2 separate regions of the Homo sapiens genome follow, and region 1 is linked to region 2. The links are contacts of gene promoters, found by promoter capture Hi-C in human tissues and cell types (Jung and others, 2019). All regions are on one chromosome and are shown on one strand. Each heading gives the region's core, a stretch centred on a gene start or on the middle of the fragment in contact. The rest is flanking DNA. Distances are from core to core; before and after follow the strand shown. Region 1 overlaps NGDN (neuroguidin). Region 2 holds the start of C14orf93 (chromosome 14 open reading frame 93).

Region 1 (5,599 bases), core at 2,375-4,874, 470 kb after region 2:
GATAGGCTATGGATTCATATCTAGCATGAGGGAAGTTCTAGCACAGAGCACATTTCATTGAGGAAGCTCAGTATTGAGCATTCAATATGTCCTTACTAAATACTATGTTGATCTGCTGTGAAACTTCTTGAGAACTCCCTGAACAAGAGATGAGTAGATACTTGGGCCCAGGTTGTGGGCTGGAGCTTTCCATCTCCATGGTCTGAGCCTGCTGGAAACTGTCTTTCTCTGGCAGGATTAACTATGAGGAGAGCATGATGGTGCGTTTGAGCGTCAGTAAGCGAGAGAAAGGACGGCGAAAACGAGCAAATGTCATGAGCTCACAACTTCATTCCCTTACACACTTCAGTGACATCAGTGCTTTGACAGGGGGAACTGTTCATCTTGATGAGGTGAGGTTGAGATATGGTTGTAGTAGGATGTGACTTTCATGCTTTCAGCAAAATGTATGTGGGGCTTATTACCATGAGGAACTTGGGAAGGGATGCTGGCTCTCAGAACCACAGTGCCATTCCATCACTTCTCCATCTGTCTCCAGGATCAGAATCCTATTAAGAAGCGGAAGAAGATACCTCAGAAAGGTCGGAAGAAAAAAGGTCAGTGAACTGCTGGGACTTAGGTGATCAGGTGCAAGGTGGGGAGTACAAATTGAGTCTCTTTGGATTTGCCATTCTGGGTCTCACCAAGCCCTGTAGTATCTCTTCCATACTGGGCAATAATCTCCTTAGGTGGGCTTTTATTTTTTGCTTTCCTGAGCTGGAAATCAGCATCATTCACAAAATGAATCTCTGGATTCTGCCTCTAAGGTCCCACAGCTCCTGTTCAGGCTTCCCTAAATAGAACTGGTAAAGTGTCACTTGAAGGAACCATTATCCCATTTCAATTTTATTCCTACTTCTCGTCTTTTGTCCTGGGAAGATATTCAGGGTACTGCCTAGGAGACCCCACCCCTGTGAGCCCTTCCCTCTAGATGTCCTGTTTTCCTGTCCCTTTAGCTTTTCCAACTGTCCTTTGCCTCATTCTTGGTTTCCCTTCCTTTCAGGTTTTCGGAGGCGGCGGTGATTATGGGTGTACATATTTGTATATTTTTTGTCATCCTGAGATACTTCTAATTTCATTGTATATAGGTGGTTTTCCCTGGAATTCATTAATTGTTTGCTTTGGACATGTGGAAAGAGCCTTACTAATAAAATTGATTTTGCTTATGAATTAAAGCCCCTTTTTGCACATGTATTGTACGACTGGAGTCGTTGGGTTTGGGATATTTTTGGTGAGTGGTTGGTGAAAAGGGAAATTTTTTTTGGAAGTGCAAAACATTTGTATTGTTTTCTTTGATAATATATTTTTCCCAAAAACTAAAAATTGGTTACGTCACAAAAAGTATTGAGAGACGAGGCTGGTATAATCAACTCTTTCAACCCATGTTGCCACAACTTCCTGTATGATTTGTTATAATACAATACAGATTGAGATATTAACACATGAATTTTAGGTTTTATTAGTGTTATCTGGGCTGGCCACCAGGTGGCATAAGTGGTTCAAGAAACTTGAGCTTGGCTGTAATCAAAAGCAAGATAGAACCTTTCCACATCAGCAAGATTATTCTTATCTCCACTTCTCTGAATGTTTTTCATTTCTTTCTGAAATAGCATGAACATAAGGCTGATCTTTGGTCAGTTACTGAGGGAGTTTGTAGAAAATAGTAGAGTGAGTAAGAAGGCTAGAGTGAAGAGTCAGTATAGTCTTGTGTTTTTCAGACTCTGACCCCCACCCCCCCGCCTTCAACTGAGGGTCATTTTACCAGAGTCAATAAAGGCCAACCCTTCTATAAAGAGCTGGCAAAAAAAAAAAAAAAAAAAAAATGCCAGCAGACAAGCAGAACATTCCTAGCTTAACAGCCAAACAAATGAAAATCCCACAGAAATAATTAGCCAAACTCAAGCCAGGAGACTGGTGGGCGTTATACATCTGAGATCTTGTATTCTAATGAGAGAATAACCTCTGTTGGTGAGATGTCCCACAGGCCTTGGATAATACAGAAAGTGAAAAAAGGGATTAAAAAAAGATAGAAGTTGGGTCTGTAGAATTAATTCATTGGAGTTTTTAAAAAAGGCTTTGGGTCTCATGAACATCTGATTTTAATGTCTAGTATTGCTGGGTTATATCGATAGACAAATTAATTTGGGTTATATGACTAAAACCTCGTTGATTCTGAATTTCTGAATTTGGATTTATACTATTCAGCCTGATTGGGGCAGGGGTCTTTCACTCAGCTGCCGCTTGGTAGAAAGTAGTTAGGAGACTGGACCTATGGCTGTCTTAGGCTAATTCTGTGATCTTGGGCAAATCACTTAATATCCCTGGCCTTTAATTTTCCTCAGCTAAGGAATGTATTAGACTTCATCTGTGAGATTCCCTTCAAGTCAAAGAGCCTAGAGCTTTTGTGCATGACACCAAGATGGGCTTATGTCTGGGGCCGCTAACCTTTAGTCCCTGATAGATCTGAGAGAGTCTCACATGCCCTGGGCTCTCATACTTCTGTTTCCTCAAGGGAATCTAAACAAAGAGCCACAAGAACAGATTTAGAGACTTTTTTTCCTTTATGGCTGAACTAACTAGATGAGTGATTCAGTTCAAAAATACTTTAGTTAAAACCACTTCATTTGCTTGTTAGGACCACTATATTTGTTTCTAATTTATTAAGATTTGTGGATTATGGGAACTTCCAGGGGAAGGGAAGTGCTCTTTAAAAAACAAAACAAAACAAAACAAAACAAAACAGGTACTACCTTCTGGCCAGGTGTGGTGGCTCATATCTATAATCTGGACACTTTGGGAGGCTGGGTCAGGAGGATAGTTTGAGGCCAGAGAGTTCAAGACCAGCATGTTTAACACAACAAGACCCTGTCTCTAAAAAAAAATAAAAATAAAAAAATTAGGCAGGTGTGGTGGCGTGTGTCTGTAGTCCCAGCTGCTTGGGAGACTGAGGCAGGGGTATTGCCTAAGCCCTGGAGTTTGAGCTTGCTGTGAGCTATGATCTTACCACTGCATTCCAGACTGAATGATAGTAAGACCCATCAAAAAAAAAAAAAAAATTCCTGTGCTATAGGCTGAGCTAAGTGCTTTATACTTAATCCTTATAAATTTTTTTTTTTTTTTTTGAGATGGAGTCTCACTCTGTTGCCCAGGCTGGAGTGCAGTGGCGTGATCTCCGCTGACTGCAACCTCTGCCTCCTGGGTTCAAGCGATTCTCCTGTCTCAGCCTCCTGAGTAGCTGGGACTATAGCCACGTGCCACCACACCTGGCTAATTTTTTGTATTTTAGTGGAGACAGGGTTTCACTGTGTTAGCCGGGATAGTCTCAATCTCCTGACCTCGTGATCCACCCACCTTGGCCTCCCAAAGTGCTGGGATTACAGGTATGAGCCACCACGCCTGGCAATCCTTATAAAATTTATGAAATCTCCATTTTACTAGTGAGGAAGCTTAGACACTTAGGGCAAACAATTTTTCCTGAGTTGGAGAACCAGTGCTTGGGGAACACTGAGGATGGAGGACTTCAAGTGTCCTGTGGTTCATGAAAATCTTCAGGGTTAAAAAATCTTTTTTTATTTGTAGGTGGTTTATAATCTAGCTCCCCCGCCCTACTGCCCCATTTCTGTTACAGGCCTCGTCTTCAAAGAAACCCTAAGTTCCACAATTCTGGTCTCTTTGTGGTATACCAGTGAACACAGCAGACAAAATCCCTGCCTTTGTGGACCTTATATTAATTCAATCAAGTCTTTAATCCCAGGACATTTTGTTTTCCCTGGCTTTTAGGCATTATTTGAAAGAAGTTTCTGGTAAAAAGTTGAACTATTTCTGAGAATATTTGTACCAGAGTCATCAAACACTGTTTAGAGTGTATTGTTTGATGGAGTATTACATGGATTCTCAATATGTAAAACAAGCATAAGTGGGGTTACTTTGATTGAAGTGGGAATGAGGGGTCCTGAAGTTCCATGTTCTTATGACCCCCTTTCCCCAAGATTCCTGAGGAGCCCCCAAGGAACCTTTAGAATTCCTTAGAATATAGTTTGAAAACAACTGTTAGGGTAGTAGAACAAGGGAACTAAGAACTAGAATTTTAGGATTTCGTTATGGCTGTTCTGGTCACTTTTTTTCTTTCCCTTATTCCTACTAATAGATTCAGTTATCTGATTATTCAGACCATATGAATATCGGATTTCCTCAGTGTATTGCTGACAACAGATCATTTCTGGTGTTCACTAAGTAATAGCTGTCATTAATGCACACATGAGCACCTTACCTGTTTGGTTTTATCATGTGATGGTTTTGTCATGTGATAGCTTTATTCTGTAGAAGTAATTTACATCTCTGCCTCATTCTTTTCATCTTAGGGGACAGGGAAGAGAGTTTGACCAAGGTCTGTCTTTGCCTTAAAATCATTGTTTTGTTAGGATTTTATGAAGGCTTGGGGAAATGTCTATTGGGAATTCACAACAGTCTTCATAGATACCTTATTAGGAAAACTGTGTTTTGTTTGCAGGGGAGATTATTAGTGTGTCAATTTTCAGCACCATGGAGAGTTCAAACGCTCCTCATTCCTTGGTTTGGTGAATGGGACACAGCTAAACCATAGAGCTGCGTGGTGTAGACCTGCCCTTTTTCAGAGCCCAGTTTGTCCAGTCTCCAGTTCTGATTGGTACAGATTGGATGAGAGTCAAACACACCCCTGAGTGTCCCCCATCCTCCCTGGAATCTTTTAGGTCCATAAATCCCAGATTCATGCCAAGGATTTGGCTAACTTGATGGAGGTATGTGAGTGGAATCCTGCCTCCTGCTCCATTGGTAACATCATTTATCATTTATATTATGATACATGAAATTTTTACCAGCCCTTAAGAAAAACTCTGTTCCCTACTCATCTTTGCTTAGAGAACCTTGAGGGGACTTAAAGTTGCTTTTTCATTCCTTGGGCCTCGTTTTCTGCCTCTGCATGAGGAAAGGCATCAATGCTCTGGCTCTCTGCCCAGTCTTGCTTTTGTGTTTCTTTGATCTCATTGTTCAGAGGGTCTCAGAGAAGCCCCCAGAGCCATGCCTTTGCATGTTTAAGCTATTGATGCTTTTGAGATGACAGAGCGTCGCTGTGTAAGAAGTGTATTAAAGGTCTATCGTGAACAAACTTGGGTCAATAGGTGGCAGTAGTCACTGAGTCCTGAGGCCCTGACACCCCCTAAACACAAACACATTTGATGGCCATTATATTTAAGGAAGGATGTGAGAAAGGAGGTCACATTGAGATTAAAACGGGGAGAAAAGCAATCCTTTTTGGTGGAATCCAGGAAATGCTGAAATGTGCTGGATTACATCTGTGGGAGTGTTGTGTGGGGTGTAGGGGAAGATTGCTGTCAGCTAGTGAAGGGCACTGATTGGAAACAGCAGAGCCTCAGGATTGGGGGAACAGATTCATTCATCTAAGATGTAGGTGCTAAGGTTTCTTCCAGCTAGAGTAAGCATGTGTTAAATGAGGACCAGCACTGAAAGGACAGAGTGGGGTTGGAGTGAGTAGAGATACAAGTAGGGGAAGGAGGGGCAG
Region 2 (5,591 bases), core at 1,647-4,146:
ATTGGCTGCAAACAACAGTCACTCAAAAAGTCAGGTAGGGGAGGGGCCTCCTCAGGGAGGGACAAGACTGTGAGGCTTTTTCAAGGCCGTCAGACGCCATCTTTAGCTTGTTTTTGTTTACTTGCTTTTGTTCTCTGCTGCTCACAAACCTGTGTGTACACGATTATAAGCACAGTGGCCACAAATCGGCGTCACACGTTGGGTGGTGGCCGACTTTTAGTTACTGCTGGCCTCGGTTACATTTCTTTCACATGTCACCTGCAAATTAGCAGCTCCTCACAGTTCAAAGAAGTTTCCAATACTAGGGGCCCCGAGGATTCCCAGGCAAAATCAACAGAGTTTAGTTTTGCTTTGCTTTGGAAGGCCAAGCCAACGATATATATGTGCGAGGAATTCTCTCCTTTCTTAGGAAGAAAAAGCAAGAACAGTGGATATGACCCTACGTTCCTGGATGTAGAAATCAAATAGCCTAGGAAATCAGGGATACGGGCTCTGCACTGTTCAGGGAGAGCTCTCCCTATTTTTTGAGACGCTAAAAAGTAAGGTAAAAAGTATATGTGATGACCTGTAGTGATGTGGAAAAGAGCTAAAAAGGGTAAAACTCCATTAAAAATTCCCGTAACTGGCCGGGCGCGGTGGCTCACGCCTGTAATCCCAGCACTTTGAGAGGCAGAGGCGGGCGGATCACCTAAAGTCAGGAGTTGGAGACCAGCCTGACCAACATGGTGAAACCCCGTCTCTACTAAAAATACAAAAATCAGCCCGGCATGGTGGCACATGCCTGTAATCCCAGCTACTCGGGAGGCCGAGACAGGAGAATCGCTTGAACCCAGGAGGCGAAGGTTGCAGTGAGCCAAGATCGCACCATTGCCACTGCAGCCTGGGCAACAAGAGCGAAACTCCGTTTCAAAAAAAAAAAAAAAAAAAAAAAAAACTCCCATCACTGTTGTGATCACAAAGATCACTAAAATGTGACTAGATTTCAAAGAAATGCAGGTCTGAAATTGTGGAATAATCCACAGTCGAGCCAGTATTTATTAAGCACTGGTCTGACTTGAATTGTTAGAGAATAAAAATACACTCAGCACAAGTAAGAAACCCAGAAAGCCCAAACAGGGCCACTTTTGTTATAAATTTGTACAAGTAACTTTATTGCAGTCAGTATTTAGGAGTCAAATACTGCTTGAAATAGAGTAGGATGCTAGCTGTGTAATAGAAATGCATTATTATACAGAAGTTTTGTTGTAATGAAATTTAAATTCTACAGTAGATTTTTTTTTTTGTCTCCTGGTTGTCACTGCATTTGTGACATTCCAGTTTCTCCCTCAGCACCTCATATACCTCCTATGCTTTCACTCCAATCTGCGAATACAAATTTGGATACAGATATTTTCCATACAACTTCTAATGAGGAGATAGTGATTCTGTAACAGAATGAAGTGAAAATAGGGCTCCTATAACAGGAGGTTCTGCTCTGCGAGCCTGTTTTTCTCTAATTCATATACTTTTTTCTGTGACTCTTAGAAATGAGAAGCTTTCCATTCTAAAAATGCAACATGATAACCAAAAGGCATTTCTTATCCCTTCTATTATTTGCCTTTGCATCCTCTTGGCTCCCCATCACCATCACCATGAACAGTTTTTGAGAATTACACTTGACTGGATTTTTTTCCTGATACTTTGCCAGCTGTGGAGCTTTTCGAATATTCCAACCAATAAACGACCATTTTGTCAAAAAGCCAAGAAAGAACTTCCCTTCTGAACACACCAACCAAACCACACATAAAGGCCAAAATATACACAGCTGTACACTTAAGAACGTGAGACAATAAAAAGCAAAACCACTTAGGCAAAACAGTCACTGAAGGCTTTGAACCACAGATTCAATAAATTGCCTACTCTCATTTGCCACATGGACTATATACTCCTTGGCAATTATTTAATTATTCATTATTCTGATCCTTTAGGAGCAGAAAAATATAGTAAATGCACATAGAAAGTGCCTAAGTATGCTAAGCATAGGATTTCTTCTAAGCTCTGCTTTGCACACAAAATATTTTGATCACATTTGGGAAGACAACGGAAAAAAATTCACATCCTAGGGGATACTTTGCACACATAAAACCAGATATATTTATCACTTTTGAAAATAAAATCTGATATGGCACATATACACACATATTGTACATATACACAAATAACCCCAAGTTATAACTTTACAAATTTGTTTCAAGAAACACACACACACACACACAAATGTTCTAATGAAAATGTGTGTGAAAGACACACTGTAATTAAGGTCTTTCCCCCTTCCCTAGGGAAATGAATGTCTCCATTATAATATCCCAATATTAACTTATTGGCCTTGGACAAGTGCCACATCCCAGCCACTTGGTTTTGGTTCTGGGGGGGTGGGTGTGTAAAAAGCACGCAAACGGCTTTATGAGGGAGCCTCAAATCTCTCTGCTTCCTTCGATGTTGCCTGTGGCAGAAATTTACATTATCCCTTCAGCCCGCTTAAAAAATTCTGTACTTCCCAAGCGGCTAAATTTTTAAAGTCCCTCAACCACAAAAATCTACCAGTTCTTAAAATGTGATTTAAAAAAAAGAAAAAAAAACTATAAATTTGGCCGGAAACGGTTGTACACGGCCATCCTGCTTCTCAACTTCTTGGTATATTTAAAACCTTGACCAGGAAAAAGAAAGAGGAAGAGAGACAGAAAAAGAAATGGGGGAAAGAGCAAATTCCCCTTAGCAACAGTTTCCTCACCCCAACACTGCTACAGATCTCTATTTTTAAAAAATTTGAAAACACACACAAGATTAAGGAGGAAAAAAAATGGAAAAAGGATACCCGAAGGTCGTATGGCTCTTTGTATTCGTGTGTGTGCAAAAAGGAGGACTCGCGGAGCCCGAGCCGGCAAGCCCCGCCCCTCCCCGGACGCCCTCCCGGATTGGCCGTCCGCGGCCGCGGGGCGCCCCGCCCGCAAGCACACGCGCCGCGCCCGAGGCGCCAACCCCGGAGTTGGGGGCGGGGGGGGCCCTGAGGGCCGCCGGACCCCCGACCCCCAACCTCGCCTGGACCTTGGCAGACCCCTTTCCCACCTCTCTCCCTTTCACTTTCTCACCGTCCTGTCACCCTTTCCCATCTTTTTTTCTCAGTGAAACAAGGCCCAGTCACCAGCATAACAATCCAGTGAGCGACCTCCGGACACTTTGTTAAATTGAGTGAACTAGTCAGTAACATTCTAGACTGCAATTAAACATCAGGGACTTGGTGCGTGGGCCCTACTCCGGTTTCCAGGTGAAATGTCTCTGGGTCACGTGTGTTGCTTAACACCCCCACGTTTAAATGAACATTCACGTATGGAACATCTTTCTGAAGTCTTACACTTCAGCCCGAGCTCCCAGTTTATCTACCTGGCTCAGACCACATTCTCAAAACTAAAGTGGCTCCTCTTTATTTCCAGGAAGACAGCTGGTATACCTGGATTTTAAGCCACCCATAATCTGGTCCCACCCACCTATTTGTTATTTATTTATTTATTTAGACAGAGTCTCGCTCTGTCACCCAGGCTGGAGTGCAGTGGTATGATCTTCGCTCACTGTAAACTCCGCCCCTCCGCCCCCACCCCCACCCCCACCCCCACCCCGCCCAAGCGATTCTCCTGCCTCAGCCTCCCAAGAAGCTGGGACTACAGGCGTGCGCCACTGCACCCAGCTAATTTTTTTTGTTTTTGGTAGAGACAGGGTTTCGCCATGTTGGCCAGGCTGGTCCTGAACTCCTGACTTGAGGTGATGTGCCCACCCTGCCTTTTTTTTTTTTTTTTCAGTGATGTGATCTCGGCTCACTGCAACCCCCACCTCCGAGGCTCAAGCGATTCTCCTGCCTCAGCCTCCCGAGTAGCTGGGATTACGGATATATGCCACCACGCCCGGCTATTTTTTTTTTTTAAGTAGTGACGGGGTTTCACCATGTTGGCCAGGCTGGTTTTGAGCTCTTGACCTCAAGTTATCCTCCCGCCTTGGCCTCCCAAAGTGCTGGGATTACAGGCGTGAGCCACCGCGCCTGGGCACATATTTGTTCTTAGTTCCCTCTACGCTCGTCTTATCAATCTTGTATTATTCCTTTACTCAAGTGGCTTTTTTTTTTTTTTTTGGCCTGAATTATGCGTCTCCCCTTCCCTGACTGGTCAATTTTTATCCATTCTCTTTCAGCACAGACTGCTTACTTCCTTCTCTCCGCTCCCATCAACATGAATTTCATGTGTACTCCAGTTAGCGGCACGTAACTCTACCTTGATTCACATATTTTAGTAATTTCACTCCAGTAAACTGTTTGAGGTCAGTGATCATATCTTAAAATTGTTTTTCCATCCAGGAACTGTTTGATTCTTACTGCAGTAGCTGGCATAATTGTAGATATTTAGTAAACACTGACCAAAAAAATCATTTATTTATTTATATTTATTTTTGAGCTGGAGTCTCGCTCTGTCGCCCAGGCTGGAGTGCAGTGGCCCGATCTCGGCTCACTGCAAGCTCCACCTCCCAGGTTCACGCCATTCTCCTGCCCCAGCCTCCCGAGTAGCTGGGACTACAGGCGCCCGCCACCAAGTCTGGCTAATTTTTTGTATTTTTAGTAGAGACGGGGTTTCACCGTGTTAGTCAGGATGGTCTGGATCTCTTGACCTCGTGATCCACCAGCCTCAGCCTCCCAAAGTGCTGGGATTACAGGCGTGAGCCACCATGCCGGGCCAAAAATCATTTATGATCAAATAAGTGAATTTCTTTTCTAGCTAAAACACAGATTCTGAAACTCACATCTCACAAGAATTTCCCTTCTATAGTAAGTAGCAATTTGTGAACACTTATTGTGCAGGAAGTAACTGTTCTGAACACTTTATGTGCATCAATTTAGGTATTATTATTATTATTTTTTTTTTTTATTTTTTATTTTTCGAGACAGAGTCTTTCTCTGTCGTCCAGGCAGGCGGATCACGAGGTCAGGAGTTCGAGACCAGACTGACCAACATGGTGAAACCCCGTCTCTGCTAAAAATACAAAAAGTTAGCTGGGCATCGTAATGCGCACCTGTAGTCCCAGCTACTTGGGAGGCTGAGGTAGGAGAATTGCTTGAACCCAGGAGGCAGAGGTTGCAGTGAGCCAAGATTGCGCCACTGCACTCCAGGCTGGAGGACAGAGCGAGACTCCATCTCAAAAAATAATAATAATAAAATAATAAGGCCGGGTGTGGTGGCTCACGCCTGTAATCCCAGCACTTTGGGAGGATGAGGCAGGCAAATCACCTGAGGTCAGGAGTTCAAGACCAGCCTGGCCAACATGGTGAAACCCCGTCTCTACTAAAAATACAAAAATTGGCTGGGCTTGGTGGCGCACGCCTGTAATCCCAGCTACTTGGGACGTTGAGGCAGGAGAATCCCTTTAACCTGGGAGGCAGAAGTTGCAGTGAGCTGAGATCGTGCCACTTAAAAATAAATTTTTTTTGGCCGGGCGCAGTGGCTCATGTCTGTAATTCCAGTACTTTGGGAGACCGAAGCGGCACGGCAGATCCCTTGAGCTCAGGAGTTGGA

What was found. Contacts are between HindIII fragments. The study calls those that stand out against the background at their distance.
Region 1: a contact is called between a fragment that was not itself captured here and the fragment with the promoter of C14orf93 in region 2, in 1 of the 25 tissues and cell types used here (hippocampus).

Annotation. Positions count from the first base shown.
Region 1 is chr14:23,476,965-23,482,563 of GRCh38, forward strand. It overlaps NGDN (neuroguidin), which reads left to right. Exons shown (of 11, transcript NM_001042635.2): 9 at 236-392; 10 at 539-596; 11 at 1,043-1,209. The coding sequence ends at 1,062. Among named protein-coding and RNA genes, the nearest start is that of NGDN, 10 kb to the left of the region's middle. RefSeq lists an enhancer at 5,107-5,599. The HindIII fragment of the contact is 5,158 bases long and covers 1,046-5,599 here.
Region 2 is chr14:23,007,247-23,012,837 of GRCh38, forward strand. C14orf93 (chromosome 14 open reading frame 93) reads right to left here and starts at 2,897. Exons shown (of 7, transcript NM_021944.4): 1 at 2,855-2,897. LOC124903286 (a long non-coding RNA gene) reads left to right here. Exons shown (of 2, transcript XR_007064075.1): 2 at 1-1,738. RefSeq lists an enhancer at 698-1,258 and a silencer at 2,886-3,235. The HindIII fragment of the contact is 12,898 bases long and covers 1-5,591 here.